3 separate regions of the Homo sapiens genome follow, and all the other regions are linked to region 2. The links are contacts of gene promoters, found by promoter capture Hi-C in blood cells and fetal thymus (Javierre and others, 2016). All regions are on one chromosome and are shown on one strand. Each heading gives the region's core, a stretch centred on a gene start or on the middle of the fragment in contact. The rest is flanking DNA. Distances are from core to core; before and after follow the strand shown.

What was found. Contacts are between HindIII fragments. The CHiCAGO score rates a contact against its expected background, and 5 or more counts as called.
Region 1: a fragment that was not itself captured here is called in contact with the fragment with the promoter of ARHGAP26-AS1 in region 2 in 1 of 17 cell types (naive B cells); the score reaches 5.4 in naive B cells.
Region 3: a contact is called between a fragment that was not itself captured here and the fragment with the promoter of ARHGAP26-AS1 in region 2, in 4 of 17 cell types (total B cells, fetal thymus, naive CD8 T cells and 1 more). The highest score is 7.2, in total B cells.

The regions. Positions count from the first base shown.
Region 1 is chr5:142,144,540-142,148,735 of GRCh38, reverse strand. NDFIP1 (Nedd4 family interacting protein 1) reads right to left here. Exons shown (of 8, transcript NM_030571.4): 7 at 4,060-4,165. The coding sequence ends at 4,062. Among named protein-coding and RNA genes, the nearest start is that of NDFIP1, 38 kb to the right of the region's middle. RefSeq lists an enhancer at 3,269-3,358. The HindIII fragment of the contact is 1,410 bases long and covers 1,321-2,730 here.
Region 2 is chr5:142,866,055-142,870,169 of GRCh38, reverse strand. It overlaps ARHGAP26-AS1 (ARHGAP26 antisense RNA 1), which reads left to right and starts at 1,260. Exons shown (of 6, transcript NR_046680.1): 1 at 1,260-1,370; 2 at 2,081-2,313; 3 at 3,285-3,360. All of the region lies in intron 1 of ARHGAP26 (Rho GTPase activating protein 26), which reads right to left. RefSeq lists a silencer at 2,852-3,146. The HindIII fragment of the contact is 5,262 bases long and covers 1-4,115 here.
Region 3 is chr5:143,824,119-143,827,926 of GRCh38, reverse strand. No RefSeq gene overlaps it. Among named protein-coding and RNA genes, the nearest start is that of HMHB1, 14 kb to the right of the region's middle. RefSeq lists a silencer at 2,547-2,686. The HindIII fragment of the contact is 1,752 bases long and covers 1,186-2,937 here.

The sequences.
Region 1 (4,196 bases), core at 776-3,275, 720 kb after region 2:
TCTGTCGCCCAGGCTGGAGTGCAGTGGTGTGATCTTGGCTCACTGCAACCTCCACCTCCTGGGTTCAAGCGATTCTTCTGCCTCAGCCTCCCAAGTAGCTGGGATTACAGGTGCACACCACCACACCCAGATAATTTTTGTATCTTTAGTAGAGACGGGGTTTTGTCATGTTGCCCAGGCTGGTCTCAAACTTCTAACCTCAGGTGACCTGCCCACCTCGGCCTCCCAAAGTGCTGGGATTACAGGCGTGAGCCACTGCGCCCGGCCCAGTCACATACTTCTTGATGGCCACTGTGCACACCTTTAGCAGTTCCTTCTGGCATTTTGTTATGAAGTAGGAAAACAGATAACAGCTTATTAATACATTTTTCCCTCCCTTAAGCTTAAATGGACTCTGAAAAGGAACCTGAGAGCTGCCCCTATGATAGTAGTACATGAGCTTTAATGTTTAGCTTTTGTAATATCTACTTTGACTGATTAGAAGGAGGTGTTTTGGGATCACTTCAAGATTGGTTTATTTGTACTATATTTCAGGTAGCCTGACTAGAAAAGTCACTATTCTTATGCCCTTTTCTAGTAAAATGCCAAATCTTAGTACAATATGGAAAGTATATTATTTTTCTGTTTTGGTAAAGTTATTTTAAAAATTCTGTATCTGTATCTTTCTGGCAAAGTTATTTTAAAAATTCCCTACCTGTGTCTTTCTTCAGCTACCTTTTAATTGGTGACATCTCCATCAAAGAAGTAGAAGTCCATAAAAGAAAATAAAGCTTTTGGGAACACTGACCCCATTTTCTAAAGTTTGTGTTCTCTGATTGGCCATTCCCAGCTTTCTACTTGCATAAACTCTGTATTCTGATCCTTTTGATGGCTTCAGGTTGACAATGTCAAGAGAGGCAATTTAGCAGAGTAGTCACTAGTTTACCAGTGATTTTCCTCAGCAGGAGTTAGCCTAGGATTTTTAAACTACATTTTCCCTCTCCCCTATCCCTATCTCCCTAGAAGAATCACTGTACATGACAGTTAGAAATAAGATCAAATTTATCCTTTAGTAATTTGACTGCCTGCTAGGCAAAAACTCAACAACCTTCTGACAAAATTCAGAGCTCATAATCTCTACAACATGATAATTAACAATGCTGCAACAAAGAAATAACTGGCCAGGTGTGTAAAAACAGGAAAATGTAACCCAGAGTCAAGAGAAAAATCCATCAATACAAATAGACTTATCTAACCTGATGTTGGAATTAGCAGATAATTACTTTTTAAAAACTGTGATAAGCATAATAAAGAATCGATAGGGAGGAAAAAAATAAAGCTTTCTTACTTCACATGACGGTTTTCTAGTATGTCTTCTAACAAAATTAAACTAAATGTCCTCTGAACTAGAGAAAGAAGGGATTCTACATCTGGATCTGGACAGAGTTCTTACCCTTTCAGTGGACAAAGGGAACTCAGTCCCATAGGATATTATGGCTTTTCAGGTTCCCTCTGGGGATCCCTGGAAAATTAGTGAAGTCATTAGAATTCTAAATTCTGCTGTAAGTTCCTCAAACCCTTAATTTAGAGCTCTGAATTCTCTGGGTGTGTCAGGAATGATTTCAAATAAACCAGGGTATCACAGTTAAATAGAAAAGCAAATAAACTCTATTATGCCCTCCAATGGTGTGCATTCATTTACCTCTGAGAAAGTTTCTGACAACTCTTAACGTACACTCCTGAAGCACCAGCAGGCTCAACACTTGAATCTCCCTTAGTACTTCCTACAACATTATTATTACTAAGGACTGCCTACTTCAAATCACAACCCCACATACATAGTTTTAAATTTAGAATATCAAAAAACATTTCAGAAATTTTAGAAAATCCAAACAATAACAACAAAATTTTCAGTAAAGCACCAAACAACACAGGAAAACTGAGACGTTCAGGCTTTCTGTCAACTGGGCTGCTATTTCTTATGCTTAGAACCAAGATGAAGAAGGTATGCAATCCCCTAATAAAGATTCAGATTTCTTTCTAACTGAAGAACAAAGAGAATAGACAGAGGTGTGATCTCAGTCCATTTAGAAATTCAGAGCTAACATTAGACTACACCTACAGAATTGATGACTTTTTTTAAAAAGAGAAAGAAATCTGTCCCCTCAGTATATCTTGGGTGTCAATGTATTAGAGGGAAAATATTAGGTGATTTCAGCACCCTTCATAAGGAGGACTTGTAGCAACCCAACAGTACTAGCTTTGGAATCCTTGATAGGTAAAAGTTAAACCTAAGGCTAACTATAAATTCCAATCTGATATATAGATGAAAGATGACAATGGTAACTAAATAAAACTGCAAAGAATATCTAATAAGTCTCTTATGTTCTAGACATAAACAAAGACACATTGTAGGCATTAAGGCCCAGGCCAGTGGTATGAATATCCATCTGTGTCCAGACTGTGTGACTGAATTCAAATTCATGACATGCTACACATTTTCAGACATGCAATCAAAGATTCCTGTTTTTTAATAATGAATACTAGTTTTTTTAATAATGAAACTAACTTTAAAAGCAGTTTAAGCCTTCTTTACCTACATACATTTAATTATCCATGTAAAATGCTTAATATATTATCTGACACATGGAAAACTCCATGAGTGTTAATTTTAGTTTACTATACTATGCTTGAAAAAATGTTTGTTATATTCAAGAGGGTCTCATTATATGATTCTGTTGCCTAAAAGCTTTCAATGCTGTTCTATCACCTGGAAAATCAACTATGGTAGATGCTTTATTTTCTTGAAGCATACCTCCTGAGACCACCACAAGTCTTCAAAATTGAGAACCTCACGATTAGTATATGATTGCCTATATAAACTGACACTCTGCGAGTACAGAACAAATTCGTGCTCCACGTGGGCTTAGTCTTGCATTGACCCAACATGTCGCTGGCTCTATCAATTTCATGGTTCTACTGCAAATGGGCTTGGTGCTCAAGGTATCTGAGAAACTTGTTTCAACCTGACTTTTTAGCCTTGACCCTCAATACTCCTTTATGCCCCAATCAAGCTGCTATCCTCTGAACAAGCCCCATACTTCCCTATTTTTGCTCTTCACTCTGCCTCAGATGATTCTGAAATTCTTCCCCACACTCTCCACTATCATGTAAAGTTTATCTGAACTACACCACCTATCCTTTATAATGCTTTGCCTAAGACCTTCAACTGGACTGGCCTCTAGGTGGTGCTCAAGGTTCCACTCTATGATTAACACAGTCCCCAAAGCCCCAAGGAACAAACAGCCAAGTCCAAGAAAGCCTATTAGAACTTGCTACCACAGAGAGCTCTCTCTGGTGTACTCTTTCTCAAGATTCTCTACCTCTTCCTTCAGGCAGCCATTGATGTAAGATGGAGTGTCAGCCTCTGGGGAAAATCATGTGTGAATCAAAGAGCCTTGGCAGGGCTTAGTCCTCCTGTTCTAGGCAAGGGAAAAGGTCCTTTCTCCTCTTTTCTTGAGTTTGACCTTCCTCACATTAGAGTGGTATCAGAATGTCAACCTGAAGAAAGCCATGGGGAAAGCCTCAATGACAATTTTAAAAGATGGAAGACTTGGTGGGCTTGTCAGCAGCCCAGACAAAAGGAGTTCTTAAAGTACTACACAGTCTCTCCAGGTTCTGGGATTTAGGGGCAGAGATGAGTGATTAGGCCTGAAGGGTTCCTTCTGAATGTCATCCTCTGGAACTGGTGCAACAGTAAGCAGTGGCTTCAGGATGCTGGAATTCAGTCAAGCAGCCAAATATCCCAGCTTTCTGATGACTGCTAAGACCCCTGCCTCTTTCACACTGTCAAAGCATGAAGTAATGATTTCTCCTATGGCAGTTTTTCTAATTTGACTTTATCAATAGCTTTTTGTAAAAATCCCTGTTACTAGACAAGAAACTGCTAAAAGGCAGGGACTGTGCCTTCTTTACTTTCTCTATATGCCCCTATCACAGATACTTACTCTAAAACTGAACAGAAATCTACAATGTAGCACATGGTTACACTGGGACTAGAATAAATTTTTTCTTTAATACCTTTAATAAATAAAGAGAACTCTGGTCCTGGGGAGATTTGAGAAAGTTTCTGGCATCTTCCGAACTTTTGCATAATTGATAAATCCTCTGAGAAACAGGAGAAAGCCTAATTTAAAAAAGAAAAGTCATGAATGAAT
Region 2 (4,115 bases), core at 11-2,510:
AGCGTCGTGGCACCCTCCTCATATAACCCTGCTGTTTCATGTGCAGGCAGTGCAAGACACAGCAAGGAGCCAAGCAGAGTCAATAATATTTACTTTGCAGAAACATCTGTTGCTAGAAAAGCAGAATGCTGGCCAGAGTGGAGGGAAGTCATAACTGCCGGCATCTGGGGAGGCCAAGTATCTGCTTTCCAGAGTAGGTAGGGCTGTGCTTCTCTGAGTGAGGGGACCAGATGGCTAAGAAATATGGAAGCAGCTAGAAGTTTGGGCCTTGAGAGACTGCTCCCAGAGCCACCTGCTCACTCAGGGACTAGAGGAAGTGCCCTTCTTTTCTTGGAGATGCCAGCAGATATTAATCTGCACCGGATTTAAGAGAATTTAACCCAAATAGATCCAACTTTCACTAACACAGAAGGTTTACCATAATTTTTTAAAAATTAGAATCTACCTTAATTTTATACAAGTTGTACCAGTAATACCACAAGTCAAGCCATTTCCTTTTTCTCCTTGGGTAAAACTTAACATACATGTGCACACACAAACATGGACTCAGGTAACCTTACTACTGTATTTTCAGTGCATCTATTGCCTTTGTGACCTCCAAAGTTACCAAAATTGTGTATTAACTACCCTTGAAATGTTTTGCTGCTCAGTCACATCTTTCCCTTTGGACTTAGAAAGTGATTACAGTTCCGGGAGGCCAAGGCGGGTGGATCATGAGGTCAGGAGTTCGAGACCAGTCTGGCCAACATAGTGAAACCTCATCTCTACTAAAAATACAAAAAAAAATAAAATAAAATAGCCGGGTGTACTGGTGTGCACCTGTAATCCCAGCTACTCAGGGAGGCTGAGGCAGGAGAATCGCGTGAACCCGGGAGGCTGAGGCTGCAGTGAGCCGAGGTTGCACCATTGCACTCCAGCCTAGGCGACAGTGTGAGACGCTGTCTCAAAAAAAAAAAAAAAAGAAAAAAGAAAAAGAAAAAGAAAAGAAAAGAAAGTGATTACAGCTCAGAAAGGCCATCATTGAGGTTAGAACTTGCAACAGGATTGGCCTCATGGCTGCCTAAAGTTCAAGAATACCAAAGTCCCCGGGCCTTGTTAATCTCTTCCTTTCCTGGACGCCAGTTACTCTCTGTGCCTCATCACCTTGTATTTGGAATAATTCTGGAACTAGTCATGAATGGCTTCATGTCACAATGCACAAAGAGTGCCTCGGACAGGGCTGGACACAGTGTCCCTCCAAACCTGTTGTACGATGTGAGCGGGCAAGGAAACACAAGCTGGCTTACAGGTGGAATACCTGAGAGTCTCCAGAGAGGACCCATGACAGACAGCTGAGACATGGATGGACACGAGCCCCAGAGAGACTTCAGGTTTAGCCCACACCCCCATTCCTAGGTCAAACTCAACACACTCAAAACAAAACTCTCTCTACTCAAACACCCTCTGCCACCCTCTCCCCAGAGAGCCAGCCGAGGGCCTCTTCCTGCATCCCCAGTGTAACGAAGGGCACCACCATTCACCCTGCCGCACAAGTCACCAGTACATGTCATCCTCTCACACAGCAGGCTCCCTCATGTGCCATGTCCATTCCCAAGTCTCCTAAGCACATCTCAATTCTGCCCACTCCTTCCCATCACTATCAGCAACCCCTAAACAAAACACCTCCATTTGCCCAGATAACTGCAACTGCTCCTCTCTGGCCTCCCCACATCCACTTTTGTCCGTCAAATCAGTTCTCCACCCAGTTGTGTCAATACCAGCAGTGAGCCCTGTGATGGCTTCCCAGAGCTCTGGAGGTGAAGACGAAAGTCCCTCCCAAGGCCTGAGAGGCCCTGCAGGGTCTGGCCTCCCCACACCCCTCTCTGGGCTCCAGCTGCTCCAGCCTCTGCCAGTTCCCGGGGCATGCCCAACTCCTACCTGCCACCACATGCCACCTCTGCCTGCAGCCCTTGGCCCAAAAGTTCTTTCCTCCAGGAAGCCTTCCCTGACTTCTCTAATCAGGCCAAACCCAACCCTATTTCTCACTCTCTGAGTACTATACTATAGATCTTTTCTTCAGAGCAATTTTATATTTGTTCAGGTAATTCTTCTCTTCAAGTAATGCCTCCCCAACTAGTACATTCTATAAGGATGAGGATCATATCCCTTCATGCTCACCACTCTATCCCCAAAGCCCAACACTCTACTGCTTGACTGAGAGCAGGTATTGCAGAAAGAACAAAGAGAGAGGAAGTTGGGCACTCCATAAGTCCATTAGCCTTCATCAGAGGTGAACCTCCCAACTCAATGTTTGACATGTGAAAAAAAAAGCAGGTAAGTTAGGACAAACTCTCCAACTTATGTAAGTCTGGCTAGAGCCTGATATATATGTGGGAATGTGCTTCCTATTAGCATGTGACCACCTCCCTTCATGTTGTCCATTGAGGAAGAGTCCCACAGAGCTGGAGGGAGAGCTACCACCAGCAGGAGCATAAAATAAAACCTCACCTATACCAAGGAAGCTGGAGAAATGAGCTACATACAACCCAACTGCTGGCCACAACCAACTGTCCTCTCTTAGCCCCAGCACAAGCCCCAGGTTGCAGTTAAAATGGTTTAAGGAAGAGTCCCCAGAGATCGCTCTTTTCTTTCTCCCCGTATCTGGGAAAACTGAGAACATATCCAATCAGAAACTGTGCTTGGAGAGAGGCATTTCCAACGACTCCCCATTTCCCCAAGTCTGTATGTAGCAGTTTAAACCTAGTTCGATGTGCTTCATTATAAGAAAAGCAAGTTACAGTCCCTTGTAAATACCATTCTGCAGCCCAGACTCCTGGCATTGTACTAGCAAAAACAAACAAAACACACACACACACACACACACACACACACACACACACACCCTGTGCAAATCTTAGAATGAAACAAAATTCTCCATAGCATTTTTCTCGTTTCCGTGACACACGGTCTTACCTGTGGCCACTAGGTGGCAATCAACTATATCAGAGAACACCTTGACCAAGCAGCTAATTTAAACAACAGCTAAGACTCAAGGAGAAATGACAGGGCCAGCCTTAAAGGCAGTGCTGAGAACAGATCCTGTCCCACTGAGGAACAAATAACCACCTAGAAATGTCCAGTGGACACTCAGCAACTGAGAGAGGGGCCCTGGCTTCCACATTGGAAGAAGTGCTCTAACACATTCGGAGGGCCTGTGCTCTCATACAGCAAGTCAAGCCTGAGACATGGAGTGGGAGGGGTATAGGGATGAAGTCACCACCACAGTGTCTCTCACATTCTTTCAGATCTGGCTGGAGCAGATTCAGAAAACCTCTTATCTCCCCCAGGCGGATGATGTGCCCACCGACCACATCAGCCACGGTACGTTACATAACATGCATTCTGATCATACATCTGCGTGCTTTTCCTGAGGCCATTTCCCTAAAACAGCATTTCCTAAATGAGGCCATCACCAGCACTGATTCTGGAAAATTTGTTTTTCCAACCAGAGCACTAAGGCTAATGAAATTTTCAGAGTTGATTTTTAAAATGAAATCAAGTAGAATAAAGACGTGCTCCTCTTTCCAAAATGAGGTTTCTAATTCTATTTAGATGAAATACCCCTTAAAAATAATTTGGGCTACCCAAACTCACCTTAATCTACATCCAAATAACTATGAATATATTATATACATTAACTTACTGAATACTGTACCTACCAAGTACTTTAAATCCCTCCATCCTCACAACCATTCTGTTGAGTAGATATTATTACCTCCATTTTGCAGATGGGAAACTGAGGCTCAGAGAGGTTAAATAACGTGCCCAAGATCATGCAGGGAATGAGTGGTAATGTAAGAAACTTGGTCTCTCTGACTCCAAAACTCTTAACTACTACACTATATTGCCTCATTTACTCAAATATTTGAGAATCTGGTATCAATGTATTCAAAGAAATGAAAAGATGGTATGTATACATTCCGTGCCTTAAGGGGAATACAATTTTTAGAAGGGCCTAATCTGTGTGTGCAAAACTACAAAATTAAGGTAGACTGTGCTAGGGCAATCAGAGAGTAGACAAAAATGGCTACAGAAATGCAAGTGGGATATTATTCCGGCTAGGGCCATTGGAGGGG
Region 3 (3,808 bases), core at 812-3,311, 960 kb before region 2:
TTTGATACATGCATATAATATGTAATAATAAGGGCAACTGGGATATCCATCACCTCAAACATGTATCATTTCTTTGTGTTGGGAACATTCCAAATCTTTTCTAGCTATTTTTAAATATGCAGTAAATTATTGTTAGCTATAGTCACCCTTGAACACTAATACTTATTCTTTCTATCTAACTGTATTTTTTTAAAAAAGAGTATTTGGCCATCATCTAAGTAAACTAAATGCTTTTTACTCTAAAGAGATAACAAGATCCAGGAGATGAAACCCCAGGGTAATTAATAGAAATAGTAGATGACAAATCTAGTTAAATGTTATTATTCCCCACTCCTTCCCCTCTCAACTCACCTTCTCTTCATTTTTCGTATGCTATCAAGAAAGACATTCAAAGACATGAGAAAGGCATTCACTGACATAAGGGAAATGGTACATGGAGAGTAAATTGTGGTGTGCATTTGAGAAAGCAGGTTTGCTCCAAAGAGAGGCTGGCACACAGTGATGTTTGCTTAGTGAGCCAGACTCTAATTTTATTAGCTCATTCTCATCTTTGAAAGTGCTAAATGTCTGCAGTTTCCCCTGGGCAGGTGATTCAGCACCTTCCACATCAAGGGCCAGATAGGGTTGCAGTTTCACTCTGTGTGACCAGATTATTGTTGTTGAGTCAAAAGGAACCTGACATTGTGTATATATATCAACGTGGTTCTGCGTATTTCTTTACTGGGATGTTTATTTTTTCACATGCACACACTTTCCTACCCAACCCTCTTTCTGTGTTGGCATATGCTGTAGTGTTTCTGCAAGATATTGGTTCATTATTTCTGACTCTTGTGACATTCATTCTTATTACTTGCCCTTAAGGACCTGTTTCCAGTCATTGCTGGAGGTGGAACCAGGGAAGAATAACACACACGAAATGATTTCTGGTTTTAATTTTAATGGCAACTGCAGTCTCTTTCCCTATTCAATTATTTTTCTTGGAAACAATTCCTGAGTGCCTAGTTTCAGGGGAAACCTTCATCAAATAAACATAATATCAAGTTTGTATTAATGTGATGGGATGGCGTTTAGTACAATCAAATCTTGTTACTATGACTTACAGCAATGAATAAAGAAAGGAATTCAAATTCACGATTATAAGTTTCATGGAGGAAGGAATGTGATTTTGTGTAAATATATAAAGCTTTGTCTATGCATATATCAACATTCATACAGGACATGCTATAGAGAAAATGAAATCCCTTAAACATGCTCATTCACTCAGTCAACCAACATAAGGGAACGATCTGATCAAGATGGTTCTACGTGGCTGGGTATGGCAGGGGAGCAGCTACAGATGGGGCCAGGTTATGAAAAGTTAGCCAATGCCACAAGCTATAAAGTACTCCTCTTCCACTCCACTAAGCACTTTTTTGAGTATCTGTTATGTACCAGACACTGAGAAGACTCCAGCAATGGGAAGGCAAAGAGTCTGCCCTCCTGGAAGTTATATTCTAATGGAGAACATGCATTAAGCAAATAAACAAGATAATGACGGGTAGTGATTACTGTTATGAAGGAAATTCATAGAAACGCATAACAAGAGCTGCCATATTGGGGAAGGAGAATGTTGGGGGAAGGAGTTCTTTTAGATAGGGTGGTCATTGCCGGCCTCTCTAAGAGGAGACATCTATACTGAGATGAAAGAAGAGGAAAAGCCAGCCATGAGAAGTGTGCAGAGAAGACTATTCCATGCAGAGAGAACAGCAAGTGCAAAGGCAAAGGCTGGCCATGTCGGAGTGATGGAAGAGGGCTCAGGTTGGCTGGAATATGGAGAGCCAAGGGGGCATGGGTATACAATGAGATTGAAATCACATATGGATGTCTAGACAAGGGTGAAGTGTTGAGTTTTAAACAGGACTTGTATCAGCTCATCTTGGCTGCTGGGAGGAGAGAGGATTGTGAAGGAGCTGGGAGGAGAAAAGCAGAGAGAGCCCTTAGGAGACAACTGTAGTCATCCAAACAAAGAGATAGGGAATGGAGCTAGTTAGTAGCAGATGAGATGGAGCACAGCGAATAAGACACATGATATGGAAAACCGAAGAGCCTGCTTATTTATTGGCTGTAATAGATGAGGAAAAGAGAAGACATAAACATGGCTCCTGGGTCTATTATGGCCATTTAGATTACTCTCAGGTGAGGCAAAGCAGATGCCCTTCCAGAATAATTTGCATTTTACAGTGAGCCCTGTGACTTTTTCCTTACAGAAAGAAAGTGGTCTGCAAATGGTTATAATACAGAGATTAAGAGGCCAAAGTCGTCGTTTAACTGTGTGATCTTAGGCTCGACGCTGCCCCTCTCAGAGCCTCAGAACCACCTTGATTAACCTCCAAAATCCCTTGGAGGTAATGAGTTTTTCATTGGTGCAGAAATAGCCATTCCCTTGGTAGAAGTAGGATTGTACAACTGAGAAGCTGAACCAAACACAACAATTGGTGGAGTGCGTTCCTCCCTCATTACCCTGTAATCTCCAAAGAACCTCCTCATAGGTGCTCTTCATATAGTTTATCTTTGCACCTTAATGTCAGCACAGCAGCAAGTCCATGGCAGGGAAGGGGCAGCCCAAAATACATCCACCAGAGGGCAGCATAGAGCTGTGCTTGCACAGATCAGCCCCTGAGGTCATCAGCCCCTGCTGTGGGAGCGTGCAGATACCTGCTTCCAGAGAAGAGCAGAGTTGGGGTCTGGAATCACTGCTGCTGAAGCAAACCTTTTGGCCAGGGTACTGAGAAGAGCATGAGAATGTCGCTGCTACAAACAGTGACAAACCCTAAATCCAACTGCAGCTTACACAGTCCAAAAAACAGATAAAATAGTATTTTTATCTTTAGCTGTCTTACATGGAGGGCTATGTACCTGGCACTGACAGATGGGTATACGCATTATCTCACTTAAGCTTTACATCAACCCTATGTGCTGCATCCTGTTTTTTATTCCTAGTTTACAGATGAGGAAACAAGTTACTGAAGATCAGTGATGGGGCAGTTTTCTCTAACTCTATAAAAGTCTGTTTCACTATAAAACCTCCTCCTCCAGGCTGTATACATCTGCTTGTTATTTTTCTAGAGTTCTGCTGGCTGCTCTGTGGATAGAAAGGAAGTATTACATAAGGATTATATAGGATTTGGCTCTTGCCCTTGAAGTACGTACACTTTCAGAATGGAGAGAACAACTTAGGTATCATACAAACAACTGTATATAATCCAGAGCTTCACGGCTTGGTAAAACTATGTTTTCACTACTCCCCAGTCTCAAGTGTTTTTCCACTGGTACTACACAATTGCTATAAACAAAGTCTTTTTCGTGAGAAGTGGTGTGCTGTAGTCAAACATTCAATCATTCATTCATTTGCTCTCCAAATATTTAATGAATATTTCTTACTATGACAGACACTGGATATCACACAGAAACATACTTCATCCTTGCCCTTGAGGGGCTTATAATTTAGTTTGGTATGGTGAAAAATGGACAATGGCAAGTAAACCAGTACATGTGGGATTATAATTATACATGCCATTAAAAAGGTCCAGTGGTTAGCTATTATCCCTAGTGACCTCAGCTCTTGGACCAATGATTTCCTGCTCTTGATTCCCGTGATCTCCTTCTCTATTGCAGCCACCGGGCAACCCTGCCTCGAGCAGGTCTTCTCTTCTGTGACCTTGACCTTTCTGAATCGCCTCTGTGATTGCAATCTCATGGACACATGTCTCTCACACTCCTTTGGATTCCAGCCAGCCTTTCCTCCACCCTCAGTGTATAATCCCTCTTT